Regions from separate parts of the Homo sapiens genome. Here region 1 is linked to region 2. The links are contacts of gene promoters, found by promoter capture Hi-C in blood cells and fetal thymus (Javierre and others, 2016). All regions are on one chromosome and are shown on one strand. Each heading gives the region's core, a stretch centred on a gene start or on the middle of the fragment in contact. The rest is flanking DNA. Distances are from core to core; before and after follow the strand shown.

What was found. The method cuts DNA at HindIII sites, captures the fragments that hold promoters and counts their contacts. A CHiCAGO score of 5 or more calls a contact.
Region 1: a fragment that was not itself captured here is called in contact with the fragment with the promoter of IKZF1 in region 2 in 1 of 17 cell types (total B cells); the score reaches 5.8 in total B cells.

The regions. Positions count from the first base shown.
Region 1 is chr7:47,684,451-47,687,717 of GRCh38, reverse strand. No RefSeq gene overlaps it. Among named protein-coding and RNA genes, the nearest start is that of LINC02902, 31 kb to the right of the region's middle. The HindIII fragment of the contact is 4,190 bases long and covers 1-3,267 here.
Region 2 is chr7:50,303,296-50,306,202 of GRCh38, reverse strand. It overlaps IKZF1 (IKAROS family zinc finger 1), which reads right to left and starts at 1,487. Exons shown (of 8, transcript NM_006060.6): 1 at 1,281-1,487. RefSeq lists a silencer at 1,375-2,174. The HindIII fragment of the contact is 6,071 bases long and covers 1-2,907 here.

The sequences.
Region 1 (3,267 bases), core at 506-3,005, 2.6 Mb after region 2:
CTCCCAGGTTCACGCTATTCTCCTGCCTCAACCTCCTGAGTAGTTGGGACTACAGGCGCACACCACCACACCCGGTTAATTTTTTGTATTTTTAGTAAAGATGGGATTTCACCATGTTGGCCAGACTGGTCTCGAACTCCTGACCTCGTGATCTGCCCACCTTGGCCTCCCAAAGTGCTGGGATTACAGGTGTGAGCCACCACACCTGGCCCTATGCTATACTTTTATAATAACTTTAGAGTGTAGTCTTACTTATGCAAAAAAGAAGTTAACTGCAAAGCAGGCTCAGGTAGGCCCTTCAGGAGGTATCGAAGGAGACACTGCTATTGCAGGAAACGACAGCTCCATGTGTGTTAGTCCCTGAAGACCTTCCTGTGGGACAAGACGTGGAGGTAAAGGACCGTGACATTGATGCTCCTTACCCTGTGTAGGCCCAGGCTAATATGTGTGTTTTTGTCTTCATTTTTAACATAAAACTTTAGAAAGTAAAAAATAAATAAGTAAATAACTAGAAACAGAAATAGAAAAAAAAACTTACAGAATAAGGATATAAAGAAAAAAATATTTTTGTACAGCTATGCAATGTGTTTGTGTCTTGGGCTAAGTGTTATTACAAAAGCATCAAAACGTTTAAAAAACCAGGCCAGGTGTGGTGGCTCACACCTGCAATCCCAGCACTTTAGAAGGCCGAGGCGGGTGGATCACTTGAGGTCAGGAGTTCAAGACCAGCCTGGCCATGGTGAAACCCTGTCTCTACTAAAAATACAAAAATTGGCCGGGTGCAGTCACTCATGCCTGTGATCCCAGCACTTTGGGAGGCAGAGGCAGGTGGATCACAAAGTCAGGAGTTCAAGACCAGCCTGGCTGAGATGGTGAAACACTGTCTCTACTAAAAATACAAAAAAATTAGCCAGGCGAGGTGGCAGGCGCCTGTAATCCCAGCAACTCAGGAGGCTGAGGCAGGAGAATCGCTTGAACTCGGAGGGTAGAGGTTGCAGTGAGCCGAGATCGTGCCACTGCACTCCAGCCTGGGCGACAGAGGGAGACTCCGTCTCAGAAAAAAAAAAAAAAAAAAAAAAAGCCAGGCATGGTGGCGAGTGCCTATAATCCCAGCAGGAGAATCCCTTGAGCCCACGAGGCACAGGCTGCAGTGAGTTGAGATTGCCCCACTGCACTCCAGCCTGGGAGACAGAATGAGACTTCATCTCAAAAAAAAAAAAGTTTAAAAAATCAAAAAGTTTATGAAGTAAAAAGGTTACAGTAAACTGAGCTTAATTTATTATTAAAGAAAGAAAAGTATTTTTTAATGAGTTTAGTGTAGCCTAAGTGTTTATAAAGTGTGTAGTAGTGCATAGTAATGGCCTAGGCCTTCACATTCACTCACCACCTACTCATTGACTCACCAAGAGCAACTTCCAGTCCTGCAAGCTCCATTCCTGGGAAGTGCCCTACACAGATGTACCATTTTTTATCTTGTATGCTATATTTTTACTGCAGCTTTTCTATGTTCAGATATATTTAGATGCACAAATACTTCCCATTGTGTTACAGTTGCCTTCAGTATTCAGTATAGTACAGGCTGCACAGGTGTGTAGCCTAGGAGCAATAGGCCATACCATACAGCATGAGTGTGTTGTAGGCTAGTCCATCTAGTTTTGTATAAGTCCACTCTGACATATACGCAATGATGAAATCATCTAACAATGCACTTCTCGGAACATATCCTTATCATTAAGGGACACACGACTATGTCTCCTGGCATTGACAGTCTTATCCAAGCTCTTATCCAAGCCCCCCTCCCCCCATCCTGAAACTACAGATGATACCAAACGGAATTGCTGTTAATTGTAACATGTTAGCTGGGTGAGGTGGCTCACCCCTGTAATCCCAGCACTTTGGGAGGCCAAGGCAGGCAGATGACTTGAGGTCAGGAGTTCAAGACCAGCCTGGTCAACGTAGCAAAACCCTGTCTCCACTAAAAATACAAAAATTAGCCAGATGTGGTGGCATGTGCCTGTAATCTCTGCTACTGGGGAGGCTGAGGCAGGAGAATCACTTGAACCGGAGAGGCAGAGATTGCAGTGAGCTGAGATTGCACCACTGTACTCCAGCCTGGGTAACAGAGTGAGACTCTGTCCCCCACCAAAAAAAAAAAAAAAAAAAATTGTAACAAGTTTCTGTTTAAGTCTTCCACGGGCAAATGTGATGCCTTTCCAATCTTAATATATCACACACTGTGGCTGCAACTGTTGCAGTCTGAAGCACAACAGCAAAGCTAGCACAAACTTCTTTTACCTTCTTTGCAATTTCATGGATAGGCAGTTTCTAAGGTGATTTCTTACAAAACTAAGCATATTCTTGTCATGCGATCTAGCAATTGAGCTTCTTGGCATTTACCCAAAAGAGCTGAAAACCTAAAAACCTGTACACAGATGTTTACAGCAGTTTTATCTATAATTGCCAAAATTTGGAAGCAGCCAAGATGTCCTTCAGTAAGTGAATGGATACATAAACTATAGTCCATCTAGACAATAAAATATTATTCAGCGCTAAAAGGAAAGAAACTATCAAGCCAAGAAGAGACACAGAGGAACCCCAGATGCATACTGCAGAGTGAAAGAAGTCCATCTGAACAGGCTACATACTGTATGATTCCAGCTCTGTGACGTTTTGGAAAAGGCAAAACTATGAAGACAATAAAAAGATTAGGGGTTTGGGGGAGGGATAAATAGGTGGCGCAGAGGGGACTTTTAGGGCAGTGAAACTACCGTATGATATACTCTAATGGTGAGTGCATGACATTACACATTTGTTAAAACCAATAGAATATACAACACCAAGAACAGACCCTAAAGTAAACCATGGACCTTGAGTGTTAAGGATGGGTCAGTGCAGATCCGTCAGTTATAACGAAAGCCTCACTCTGGTGGAGGGTGTTGATAAAAAGGCAGCTGTTGGGCAGGAGCAATATGGGAACTTTCTGTACCATCTGCTCAATTTTTCTGTAAAACTAAAACTGTTATAGAAAATAAAGTGTATTAATTTTTTTTTTTTTAAAGACAAGGTCTCACTCTCTTGCCCAGGCTGGAGTGCAGTGGTGCGATCTCGGCTCACTGCAACCTCTGCCTCCCGGGTTCAAGTGATTCTCCTGTCTCAGTCTCCTGAGTAGCTGGGATTACAGGCACCCGCCACATGCCCAGCTAATTTTTGTAATTTTAGTAGAGACGTGGCTTCACCATGTTGGCCAGGCTGGTCTCGAACTCCTGA
Region 2 (2,907 bases), core at 238-2,737:
ATGTGTACACATTATTTCTTTAACTTGTTCTGCATTTTACAAGATGCCAGCGTAAGAAGGTGAATCTTCTTGTCATGAATATTTGCCTCGTGTACATTTTAAGCCATAGCCCAAATGATCTGATTTGTCACGGAAATAATTCTGACACATTCTAATATAAATAATACTGAAATTGTTACTTTTTAAAATTCCATATAAAAGATGAGTACAATAAAACTCATTGAACAAACATCTTCAAACAAAGAAATAAACTCAAGAGGACCCAGGACATTTCTATGTGGGTCCCCCCCACCCCTCGACTCATAACCAAATTGAACCTGGCCTTAAAAGCATTTGAATGTCTATGAAAGTTTAAATATCATACGCAGTATTTTCAAATTCCATAAATTTTCCTCTTTTAACAGAAGTTGATGGGACTAGTAAGGAGACATTTCCTCAACACCATTTTGTCTGGAATTTTAAAACAAGGTATCTCAAAGCTGAAATATACTGCCTGCGGCGCAGTGGGAAATTGTGAGTGGGTAACCTAAGCAAAGCGCACCGCATTGAAATTCAGTCTGGGTGGGCTGCAGTCCCTAGAGAGAGGGAAGCTGCATTTGAAAGCTGTGCCTGGTCAGACCCTATGGAATCGCTACGGTTTTCGGTCATTAGATGCCTCCAAATTAGAAGGAAAAACAAGCCCTCACGAGGTTCCTTAGGCATCAGCAGCGATGCTTGACAAATATTTAAAATACATTTCAAATATAACCGCAAGTAACCTGATGCCTTAATATTACTAAGGGTTTTCCTGAGAAGGTTTGGTGACTTGAGCGTCAAACCTGCGGTCAGCAAAAGGACTAACTTTTCAAAGCCGGGATAATTCCTCTCTTGCAGAAATTAAGTTCAGACTCGATCTCATCATATTTATAGTATAAAAAGAAAGCTCCCGGCTCAAATATAAGGAAAACTCTTTACACACGACTTTATAAAGGCTGACTTCCGTGGGTATATGTAGGTCTACATAAATTTAAATATGGTTGGGAGCTAGAACTCCTCTCCTGGTGACAGCGGGGCTGCTCAGAAGTGTCCCATGTCGGCCTGGTCCTGCACCTGCTGGCACAGTGCAGAGCAACAGACGCTTGACAGAAGTGAACTCTCTCACTGTCCTCAGAAAAGAGAGGCGGACCTGAGCGACACCAGGGTCTACCAACCTTACCGCTTTTCTTTACTGTGTTTTTTTTTTTTTAAATTCACCAGTTACCCCAAGTTTTCCTATTGAAATTCAATTTGAAAACACTCACGTGGATTTGTGCGTCGCGCTTTGGGGCCAAGACTGATCCTCGGGTGCGAAGAGCAACCTCGGAGCCGGGGCTCCCTCTGCCCTGCCAGGCTTGCCCGCCTCGCCGCGGCCGAGCGTCCCGCCCAGGCTGGGATGCGCCGCGCGGGGACCCAGGGGGCTTGCCGCAGTCACCGCCCCGGGCGCGGGCCGCGCAGTCACTTGTTAGAGTGTCCTGCTAACTTGGCCGCGGAGCTCTTCCCAGCTTTCTTTCACAATGACTTCCTGAAGTTGCTCACTCGCATTGTTCCCCATTTCTCCGCCACACTCCCCGCCCCCAGCCGGCTCAGACCAGGCTTTCGCGCTCCCGGCCGACCGGCTGCCCCGCGCGCACAGCGCCGCCCGCGGGCCCCGTACCTGGCCCCCTCCGCGCCGGCCGCCCCCGCCGCGCCCTTGCGTTGCCACCAGCTGCCGCCCAGAGCGGCGGGTGGCCAGAGCGCGCGCCCTGCCACCCCGCAAACTTTGGGGTGACGCACGCTGGCGGTCCCTGCTCGACCTGCCCCGCAGCCGGCTCGGCCCCGCGCGCACCTCTCGGCCGCCTCCCGGATCGCTGCTCCGGTACAGGGAGCGGGGCGCGCAGAAGGGCGCAGAGCGGGACACGGAGAGGGTGCGTCGTCCCGTCCCCGCCCCGTCGCCGAGTCCCCCGGCTCGCGCGGCGCGCGTCTCAGCCGCAACTCCGGGCCAGAGGGGCCGCGCACGAAAACTTTGCAATCGCGCCGGGCTCCGGCTCAGCCCCCAAAGGCCGCCGGGGCGGCGGCGGGTGCGGGCCGTACCTGCTGGCGCCGCCGCCGGCTGCAGCCCGCTCGCCCGCGCCGGGCCCGCTCGGCGCGCCGCCGCCACCCCCGCGCGCACCGCGCCCGGGCCCTCCCCTCGCCGCCGCGCTTCCTCATTCCAGCGCAGCATCGCGCCGCGGCCCCGCACGGGATGCGGCGGCCGGCGCTGTGTCCGCGGGCCGGGCAGCCCGGCTCGGCCGCGGCGCTGCGGGACCCGCGCGTAACCCGTGGGGGCGCGGCGCGGGCGACACGTGCGGGCCGCCAGGAGGGGGAGGGGGACGCGCGCCGCCGGGCCCGCCACCCTGCACCCGGGGCCGCTGGTCGGTCGGGGCACCCTCACGCTCGCCCCGCTGGCGAGACTGGAGGGACTCGGGACATCGTAAAGCACTTTCCCCAGTGTCTGGGAGCGCCCGCTGTACGCTCAGCTTCACGTCCCTGGAACTGGGGCCCCTTGGCTCCCGGGTTCAGGCTCCGGCCCCAGGATGCGAGTGCCCACCCGAGGGGGTGGGAAAAGTTGATCCTCCGCAAGGGAGGGGAAGGTGCAATTCATTTTCCCAGACAACCAATGGAATACCTCTCGTCTCTCTTCCCTCCCACCTGCTCACGGCAGAAGTTAGGATGGCGCCTTCCATGTTGGCCTGGGTGCACACACAAGTGCGTGCGGAAGGGTGGCTGCAGGCGGAGGTGACAGCGAAGCAATCCCGCAGCCCGCTCGACGGCTCTTTGCGTCTCAGACCTCTCCCTGGCGTGTAAGACACCGTGTGTCTCCGTAAAACGGGAATGCCACATCTGACAGCGCACCCCTTCGCCCTACGGGGA